Regions from separate parts of the Homo sapiens genome. Here region 2 is linked to region 1. Evidence: promoter capture Hi-C in human tissues and cell types (Jung and others, 2019). All regions are on one chromosome and are shown on one strand. Each heading gives the region's core, a stretch centred on a gene start or on the middle of the fragment in contact. The rest is flanking DNA. Distances are from core to core; before and after follow the strand shown.

Region 1 (4,881 bases), core at 1,053-3,552:
CTCCAGAGAACATGATTATAACTTCTCTAGAACCTGGAAAATGTACTCCCTGCCCCCTCTGCCCCGCCCCCAACCACCCACCAGGAGGGAATAAAGCACATTGTCTGGGAAATGGCTGAAATGCAGGCACAAAGTAGGTTTTCAGAAGCGGCTATGAGTTGAACCTGTTTTTATATGGGTCTAAAAATCTCCCAATTTAGTCTGTTTAGTTATTGAAGGATTGCTATTGTGTTTGCAAGCATCACTGACTTTTACATCTTCTTATTGGTTCTTCTTTGGGTATCAAATCTTCGCATTTGGAGGAATGTATTTTTTAAATAAAGCGAGGCACAGCAGCCCTTAGTAGAAAGCAAAATGGTCTTCAAACTGCCTCTAGGCCATTTCCATGAGGATATCTTGACCCATAAGTGGCTTCCGAATTTCTGTATATGAGGGGCTAGTTGATAGGATGTTTGAAGCTGTGTTTACAGATGATCAGAAAACTGTCACTCATCCATATCAAAGGAGAGGAAGTTATGGAAGTCCTAAACCCATTAATCCACCCTTTAGCACTGCCCAAACCCAGACTTCACTTCAAATTAAGCACATTAAAAATGGAGTTCATATTTTCTCCTAAAAATCAGCTTCTTGGCCTCCCTTCCCAACTTCCTCACCTGTTTAAGGCAGTATTTTCCTTGTCAGGTTAGAAACATTATAACTATCTTTGTTCTCCTACCTAGCTTCCTCCTTCCCAATACCCAATTAATCATCAAATTCTATCATTTTTTCCTTAATAATGTCTTGAAAATTTTCCTCCATTCTTTATATTCCAGCAAAACAGAAACAGAAGGTGAGGATCCAGCTCTCCAGTCTGGATGGGGAGACTAGAAACACACTACATACAAGTGAAAAAAATTTCATAGGAATTACAAGAATACCAAAACAATGCAAAATAACAGCTCCAAACAAGCCTTGTATACACATCTCCAGGCAATAGCTGGCACTGCATTTGTCCAGTAGTAATCTAGGGCAGTGGGTGGGGAGGTCCTTCTGCTGCGCAGGGGCTGTGGTGAGGCCTTTCAGGTCCAGCTTAAGCCACTCTGATTCCAGCCACCACCCCACCTTAGATGGGCAAGCTGTTCCTTTCCAGATCAACTCATCTCCACCCACAACACAGTGCTTATGTATTCAGTCTAAAATAGCACAATTTATCAAGAGTATTCCATCGTAATTTTAAAATGTCGTGTTTATATTTTACCTCCACCTGGACAGAAACTCGTTCCTTTGTATTCTTACTGCCCCTCCACCTCCCCATAGCAACCAGCACAAGATTCCACCGTGTGTAGTCTATAAATAAATGTTAAATCATAGAGCCTTAGAATTTTGGAGTCAGACGGGGATCTTCAGAGTTGCATTTGTCCAGTCCTTTATAGATGGGGAAACAGGTCTAGAGAGATTAGGTGACTTGCTCAAAGCCACACAGCTGGCTATTGACAAGGCAAGGAGCAGAGCCCAGGTTTCTCCTGCCTGAAGTCTGTACCCTGAACTGTCCTTAGATAATCAGTGACAGACACCTGAGTTCACACAAGGTCTCCAGGGGTTGATGGTGATAGGAGAAACTGGCTTTCCCAAAACATGTACAAAGATTCGGTCCACGCCCCTAGCAGACCTTCGGGAGGACTAACTCCTCAGCTCGGCGTCCAGCAGAGTCCCAAGTTACAGTCGCACTTGTTTATGCGTCTGTCGGCCTCCTCCGACAGGACCGAGTACTCGAGGGCCCCGCGCTCAGGGGCTCCCCTCCGGCCCCTCCCCCGCCGCCGAGCTGTCACACAGCCGCCGCGCGGCCCGCCCCCACGTGGACTGGGCTCGGAGGATCAAAGTCTGTTTGCAGACTTTGCAGCCCGGCCCCCGCAGGTGTGCTGGGAGTTGCGATGGTCCGCAGGCCAGGACTCCGCCACACCCGAGGGGACCCGGCCAGCCCCTCCCCCTCCCGCTGCACGCGGCCCGCGCCCCCAATTCGCCCGCCGCTGCACCCGGCCACGGCCCCCCGGCCCACGCCCGGCTCCGGGAGGAAAAGGCCCCGCCCCTATCTGTTGGAGCCGCGACCCCGCCCCCTTCCCGCCCCTCCGAGGCTCCATCCAATAGTGAGCGTGGCTGGGCGGGACGCCGAGGCTGTCGTGAGGGGGTCCTGACCAATGGGGAAGCGTGCCGGGCCTGGTGGGCGGGGCGGCAAGGCCTTGTCACGCTCGGGTCCGTGTGAAAACGGGGGTTCCGAGTGCAAAGCAAAGTTTTTTTGTAAACCGTCTGCAAAGGCGGGGGGGCGAAGAAGGCGCCCGAGACCGGGCCGAGTGCAGCTGCCGTGGCCGCCGCCTCTCTAGCTCCTCAGCCATCCGCTCCTCAGTCCAGCCGCCGCAGAGGAGACCAGCAAGCAGAGCCCTCAGATGCTCGGAGCTTTCTCGGCGCGAAGCTGCCCGTCGCCCTCTCCTGCCGCCCTCGCCCGCCGCCCTCCTGCTCCTGCTCCGGCTGCGGCTCTTGGTACCCCGGCTCCGGGAGCCCAGCTCCCCGCCACCGCCGCCGCCTGGGTGTGGGGGCTGCTGAGGCTGAGCCGGGCCTCGGCGCCGGCTCTGAGGACGGACGCCTGAGGAGCTGCGCGGCGCGGCGCCGCCGGCTGGCGGAGAACGCCCACAGGCGCGGGGCTCGGCGGCTTGACCCGGGCTTGTCCCCGTGCGGCCGCGGGGGCCCCTCAGCGGTTTCCCGAACGGCCCGACTCGGGCGCTCCTCCGTGTCGCGGTCGCCGACCCTCCGCGTCCCGCCAACGCCGCCGCTGCACCAGTCTCCGGGCCGGGCTCGGCGGGCCCCGCAGCCGCAGCCATGGGGTGTTGGGGTCGGAACCGGGGCCGGCTGCTGTGCATGCTGGCGCTGACCTTCATGTTCATGGTGCTGGAGGTGGTGGTGAGCCGGGTGACCTCGTCGCTGGCGATGCTCTCCGACTCCTTCCACATGCTGTCGGACGTGCTGGCGCTGGTGGTGGCGCTGGTGGCCGAGCGCTTCGCCCGGCGGACCCACGCCACCCAGAAGAACACGTTCGGCTGGATCCGAGCCGAGGTAATGGGGGCTCTGGTGAACGCCATCTTCCTGACTGGCCTCTGTTTCGCCATCCTGCTGGAGGCCATCGAGCGCTTCATCGAGCCGCACGAGATGCAGCAGCCGCTGGTGGTCCTTGGGGTCGGCGTGGCCGGGCTGCTGGTCAACGTGCTGGGGCTCTGCCTCTTCCACCATCACAGCGGCTTCAGCCAGGACTCCGGCCACGGCCACTCGCACGGGGGTCACGGCCACGGCCACGGCCTCCCCAAGGGGCCTCGCGTTAAGAGCACCCGCCCCGGGAGCAGCGACATCAACGTGGCCCCGGGCGAGCAGGGTCCCGACCAGGAGGAGACCAACACCCTGGTGGCCAATACCAGCAACTCCAACGGGCTGAAATTGGACCCCGCAGGTGAGCCGGGAAAGTCGCTGCCGCAGGTGGTTGGGTTTGGGGTGCCCAGAGCCTCGCCTGGCCTTCGGCGGGGTGGCCCGCACGCCCCCTGCTGCCCGAGCGGGCCTGCGCCGCGCCGCCCCTGCCTGCTCCCTCCCCGTCCTGCACACGCCCCGCTGCTGCTCCAGGAAATCAGAACCCCCTCAGTCGGGTGCAAGGAGCCGGCGACGCGTCTGGCATATTTGTAGGTGGGGGCTGTGGGTCAGACCCTAAGAAAAAGGGTCAGGAGGTGATCATCATCCCGCTGCAGTCCACACCCGCACTTGGCTGTCTTTACAGGCTGCAGCAACTTTGCTGGAGACTTGTCTGGTTATGGTTATAACAGCGTCAGAAATGCTTCCCAATTCAATTCCTTGGCCCTCTTGGGAAACGGAGAGAATCCCCAATTCGTCCCCAGTAGTTGGGTGCTGGAAACCTTGCTCTGCCAAAGTAGTTCTTATGCCCATTGAACTCCGTTTCATAATATGCATTCAGAGCGTGTAAACCCTGGTTAAAGGTTTCTTTTATGAACAGCAGTGTATGCTTCAGCTAATTGATCCCTAATCCTGGAAATCATAGATTTAGGACCTGTCTGGGCATGTTTAACATTTTCCCAGGACTTTTCATAATCGTACTGAACTAAAAGTGATGGTAATTTATTCATCTTATATTTTTAGTGGATGCTTTTTATATTTAACATTAAGTGCTCTTGAAGGAAATTTGAAAATAAATGTTGAAAGAAAGGAGATGGAAATGACTCAACCAGTGTCCTACTACCCAAGCTCAATGGTGCTTAACAATTTGGTCTTATTTCCTTCACTTACGTTTATTTACCTTGTATCATTATAAATTATGCTACATAATTTTCCTTTTCGAGTGCAGAATATGAAGTTAGTGAAATTCAAGTTGTACATTGGAAAGGTTTAATAAGTAATTGGTTTTCCTCTCACTCCACTCGGCAAGGTGTTATTCCAAAGAAAATTAAGTTTCTCTGGTGTGTAATTTCAAAAGATCAATACTTTTTATCTTTTTGAATACTTTTGATCAATACTTTTTGAAAAGATCAATACTTTTGATTTAAAAGTTAGTAGGGCAGGTAGTCATTTAGTTTCAATTTTTCTAATAATCTCTGTGATTATTGATTTTTATTGTTGATTTGTCAGTTTTTAAACCCCCCTACCAAGAAACTTTTATATTCATAATAAAAGTTTAAAAGTTAAAATTGGTTTTATTCTCAAGCAATTGGCCTCAGTGACAAAGAGTGACTAGAGAGTGCCCGAGTGTCAAATCAGGTATTTTGTATTAGTAGACTTATTCCTAGCTGCATTTAATTTTGGTGTTAGCATTCAATTTTATGTTTTCCTTTGTATATACCATAAAGTATAGCAGAA
Region 2 (5,623 bases), core at 1,791-4,290, 1.2 Mb after region 1:
GATGGAGTCTCACTCTGTCGCCCAGGCTGGAGTGCAGTGGTGCGAACTCGGCTCACCGCAAGCTCCACCTCCCGGGTTCACGCCATTCTCCTGCCTCAGCCTCCCAAGTAGCTGGGACTACAGGCGCCCGCCACCACACCCGGCTAATTTTTGTATTTTTAGTAGAGACGGGGTTTCACCATGTTAGCCAGGATGGTCTTGATCTCCTGACCTCATTATCCACCCGCCTCGGCCTCCCAAAGTGCTGGGATTATAGGCGTGAGCCACCGTACCCAGCCAAATTTGTGTATTTTAATGCTAGGTTTGATGAAGATTGGACAGTCATGGAGAAATAGATTTGGATAAAGTGAGTATGTTCTAATGGTAATAAACTGAGGGGAACTTAGCAAGACCTATTTCTTCTGTGTGATCCTTCATCTTCTGAGATAAGGATGTTCCCTTCTTTTGTGTATAGAGAAGGCACCTCTCACATGAGAGTTTTATGACCTGCTTCAGGGGAGAAAGGTTGGGAGTAACTTTCCTGCTTCTGCTGTTTTCTCAAATGCCAAGGTGCCATGTTTTGAGGTAGTGCTCCTGAACCCCCAACACCTACCTGAAGGACCAGTGTTAACCCAGGAGGAAAATGCCAGTGCAAGGAGGAAGGGATAGGCTACAAGACTTGGGATCCATTCCAATAGGAAGACAGTGATTCAACTGTTTCCTAAGACCCTGGCCATAGATAACAATGGAAACCACAGCCAAATATAATGTGAAGCATCACCAAACAGAATGTTTGGAGCCTTGGTTGTTCCACAACACTCACTGTTAATGCTTCAAGACAGGCTGTCCAGTTCCCAGCTCCTACAGGAGAAGTTCAATTGGGTCTTTTCACAAAGCCTTGTAAACTGAAGGGCCCCTGGTGGCCCCAGACATACTCAGTCAGCTCACCTGGTTCCAAGAGCAAGGACACCTGGTTCAAGGACAGGACCAGTGGCCTCTGTTTTCCCACCCTGGACTGGGTTCTTCAGAGTTACTGATCATCTTGCAACCACGTTCCTCTAATCACAGAAGTCAGTGGGAAAAATTACTTCCTAACAAAGCCCATGACCCGTAAGAGGTTAGCATGTTGCATGAAGAATGTAAAAGAAAGAACTAATCTATAAATGAGCTTCTGTATCCTTTCTTCATAAATCGAGCTTAGTAATAATGAAGGCCACAGGTTTATAAAGAAATAAACAAAAGGTAGAAGGTGAATGTGTTCCGTTATACTAGCTGTATCCCACTTTAAGAACAACTATATAAAAACAAAGAAACAGGGAGTAGTGATTCAAATAAATACTTCGCACCAGAAAAAGCAAAAGCTCTTTAAATATGAGGGCTCCCCGGTGCTAGAGTTTATTTAAAGAAACATTAACTACAGATATATCACTGAATATTAAAAAAATGAAAAAAAAAGCCTGTGACATGAAAACGCAAATCAACGGGAAGCACAATTTCATTTATAAAAATGTCATTAATATGCAACTTTTCAGGAACATAGCTGCTTCATAAAAGAAGATGTGCCTGGGCTCTGCAAAATCAGAAGGTTCTAGGGTAGCTGCTTTTCATTAGAAAATAATTTTCACAGGCCAGGCATAGTGGCTCATGCCTATAATCCCAGGACTTTGGGATTTGGCTTGAGGCCAGGGGTTTAAGACCAGCCTGGGCAACATAGCAAGACCCTGTCTCCAAAAAAAAAAAAAAATAGCCAAGCAAGTGTGCAAGTGTGGTACTGTGTGCCTGTAGTCCTAGCTACTTAGGAGGCCGAGGTTGGAGGATCACTTGAGCCCAAGCACTTGAGTTTGCAGCGAGCTAGGACTGAGCCACTACACTCCAGCCTGAGCAACAGGATGAGACACTGTCTCAAAAATAATAATAATGAAATAGAAAAATATGAATTGCTCAAACTGACTTAAGAATGAAAACATACCAATAACCCTGAAAGGTACTGAAAAGTTTTCAATGAATCTACTCCCAAAGAGATTTCATGCCTAGACAAACTTAGAAGTGAATAACATCAGACACTGATGCAGACATTTCATATACTACTTTAACAGTTCCATAATATTTTTTAAAATGGAATCCTCTCCAGTTGTTTTATAAAGCTAACAGGATATCAAGATTGAAATTTGGGGATGAGACAAAACAAAATTACAGGCCAACCACTCTCACTTAGAAATCCATATATTTTTTAACCCTAGGGAAAAAAGCAGTATGTTTAAAAATACCATGGTCACGGTAGGTTTGTAATAGGAATGAATCCGTATGGTTTGCCTCTGGAAAACTGATGACTTTAAAATATAGTATCAATAGGTCAAAAAAGGAATAGGTACTTTAAAAACAAATAAAATTCAACACTTATTGCCAATTTAAAGGGGCTAGGATTCCTTAACATGAGTTTTTAAAAACAAGTAAGTAAAGCTTGTTCAACCTTTCACTATACAGAGATTTCCATTAAAGTCAGAATTAAAACAGGTTAACATTCAACTATTGTATTGTTCTAGATGTCCTAGCAAAGCAAAAACAAATGAAGCAAAACTACTATCATTATCTGTGGATGGTATTATCTAAATAGAAGGACAAGGAAAATCAAGCCAATGGAACATAAGAGAATTCAATAAATTGCTGAAATATAAAATACATAAACCAAAATAAATACCTTTAGTGTAGATCAGAAATAATCAGCTAGAAAATTTGTAAAATATCCCAATCACAAAAGGAGAAAGGAAAAGACTCAGAAATAATCTTAAGTTTTAGCAGAATCTATTATGAAGACAACCACAAACCTTCATTAAGGGAAGTGATGAAAGATTTTGAATAAGCAAAGAAAAAATATATTATTGGATAGAAAGACACATTATAAAAATATCAATTATTTACAAATTAATTTATAAGTTTATTACAATTCTAATTAAAACCCTAATGATTTTTTGAAAGTAGCCAATTTCAAATATATATCTGGAAGAATAAGCCAGTAAGAACAGCCTAAGAAAGATCTGAAAACAAAGAACCAATAACTAATAACTTACTCCAGATACTTAGGCATTTTGTAAATCAAAAATAATTAAAACGGCACAGTATTGATGTAAGAATTGATTGAGAAATCAATTAAACAGAATATAAGAATTTAATATGTGAGGCCAGGCACCCTTGTTCATGTATGTAATCTCAGCACTTTGGGAGGCCGAGGCAGGAAGATCGCTTGAGTCCAGGAGTTTGAGACCAGTCTGAGCAACATAGAGAGAGCTTGTCTCTCTTTTTATAAAATAAAAAATAAAAATAAATTTTAACAAAAGAACTCAGTACATGATCAAGATTGCATCATAATTATCATAATCACCAGTAATCCCGGCACTTTGGGTGGCCAAGGAGTTTGAGACCAGCCTGACTAACATGGAGAAACCCTGTCTTTACTAAAAATACAAAAATTAGCAGGGTGTGGTGGTACACACCTGTAATCCCAGCTACTCAGGAAGCAGAGGCATGAGAATTGCTTGAATCCAGGAGGCAGAGGTTACAGTGAGCAGAGATCGTGCCACTGTACTCCAGCCTGGGTAACAGAGCAAGATTCTGTCTCAAAAAAAAAAAAAAAAAAAAAAAAAAAGACATTATGTTTAGTTATCTATTTGTGAAAAAATATCACATCATATACTAAAATACACTTGAGATGGATTGAAGAGCACTCAACTTGCTGAGAGTAGTACAGAAAAATGGATCTCCTCCTTTGGAAGCGTTAATTGGCCCAGCCTTCCTGAGAACAGCCTGGGTTCATCTATTAAGCACCTGAAAAATGGTTGTGTGGTTTTACTCTATAACTCCTCTTCTAGAAATCTTTCTGAGAAAAACAATCAACAATCCAAACACATTCTTTACAAAGTAAATGAGCTAAGCATTCAACTCATGACAATGAAATAAAAAGGAACAGACCAAACCTAAAGAAACAATAAGGAAGGAAATAATGAGATAAGGGCAAAAATCAATGAGTTAGAAAACAAAAAGAAACAACTGAGAAAATAAAGCCAAATGCTGAAAAGATTAATAAGATCTCTGGCACCGTTGATCAAAGAAAGAAAAAATAGAAGGGAGGGAGAAGTGGAAAGAGGAAATGAAGGGAGTGAAGATGATGCAGATAAAATATAAAATAATGAAACACCAAAAAATTTTTAAGTAAGAGTTAAGAACCACAATATACTAATCAAACTGAAAACCTACATAAAGTATATAGATTTCCTAGAAAGCTATAAAATGTCAAGATGGGTACAAGAAGAAATAAAACATTTAAATAAGAACGAATAGGTGGTAAACTGAAATAGTCAAAGACTTCCCCTCCCAGGTGCTTTTTTTTAAAAAAAAAAAAAAAAAAAACAGGTGACTTCCTTCTATCACCGGGATTTTCCATGATGGGAATTCAATAGTTTTTATTCCGAATATTGCATTAAATTGACATGGCCAGAAAAATATATGGCATCCTTTTAGGCAGAGGCATCAATTCGTTCAAGGCCTATCACACAAGCCTTCTGATGCATGGTACATTGCATTTTCACATTAAATGTAAACAGAGAGGGGCCGGGCGTGGTGGCTCATGCCTGTAATCCCAGCACTTTGAGAGGCTGAGGGGAGTGGATTACCCCAGGTCAGGAATTCGAGACCAGCTTGACTAGCATGGTAAAACCCTGTCTGTACTAAAAATACAAAAATTAGCCAGGCATGGTGGCATGCACCTGTAGTCCCAGCTACTCAGGAGGCTAAGACAGAAGAATTGCTTGAACCTGGGAGGCAGAGGTTGCAGTGAGCCGAGATTGCGCCACTGCACTCCAGCCTGGGTGACAGACCAAGACTCCATCTCTTATTAAAAAAAAAAAAAAAAGTAAACAGAGACAAAAAGTTTTATGTCTACTAAACCATAAGGCACCAACCTAATGCAACAGCTGTGGATTAGCCACAGTACTGCAGAGCACCAGGGGCGAGGTCAGCCAGCATAGCGGATCACTATCACCACCCCAATATTTCCATATGACTTCAAGATATTCTAATTTGGTAGAGTTGGGGGGAAGAAGGGGTATTCTGTTGAGTCCCTGCTGTGGATTTGCTGAGAGATTCCATTTGACTAAGGCTGTTAAAATCAGTCTGCTGTCCCCAACCACGTGACAACCCCACTACTGCTGATAGAGACAGCAGTGAATGAGATGCCTGCTCTGTGCCCAAGGAGAGTAGCCACGCAGATGCCCACCAGAGACATTTCACTGAACAAATACACTTGGAGCCTCTAGTCTATTCTAGGCAGCACGTTTGCTCCAGACATGAATGCCCTAAAAAAGTTCAGAGTAAAGACGATTTTTCCAGTGACCTACTTCTACAATGTGGGTAAGTAGCACTTTTTCCTGAATTAGAAAGTGAGATGAGGAACCAAGAAGGCTCAACATTGTATCAGTTGAACATACTTAGGCATGGCATGGGGATCTGGCTCCCGTGAGGTAAACTGGCAAAAGCATTTGAGGAAGATATTTCTTGGGAATGGCCTGAGAAACACTTCAGCACTGACAATAAAAGGAAAGGCATTAAGGATTAAAGAAGCTTCAGGCTAGGAGGTGGTCAGCATGACAGC

What was found. Contacts are between HindIII fragments. The study calls those that stand out against the background at their distance.
Region 2: a contact is called between a fragment that was not itself captured here and the fragment with the promoter of SLC30A1 in region 1, in 1 of the 25 tissues and cell types used here (hippocampus).

The regions. Positions count from the first base shown.
Region 1 is chr1:211,576,582-211,581,462 of GRCh38, reverse strand. It overlaps SLC30A1 (solute carrier family 30 member 1), which reads left to right and starts at 2,302. Exons shown (of 2, transcript NM_021194.3): 1 at 2,302-3,472. The coding sequence starts at 2,851. RefSeq lists silencers at 1,713-2,272, 2,513-2,822, 3,323-3,672 and enhancers at 2,129-2,628, 2,629-3,130, 3,103-3,212. The HindIII fragment of the contact is 26,870 bases long and covers 1-4,881 here.
Region 2 is chr1:210,352,195-210,357,817 of GRCh38, reverse strand. All of the region lies in intron 2 of HHAT (hedgehog acyltransferase), which reads right to left. Among named protein-coding and RNA genes, the nearest start is that of HHAT, 26 kb to the right of the region's middle. The HindIII fragment of the contact is 5,250 bases long and covers 416-5,623 here.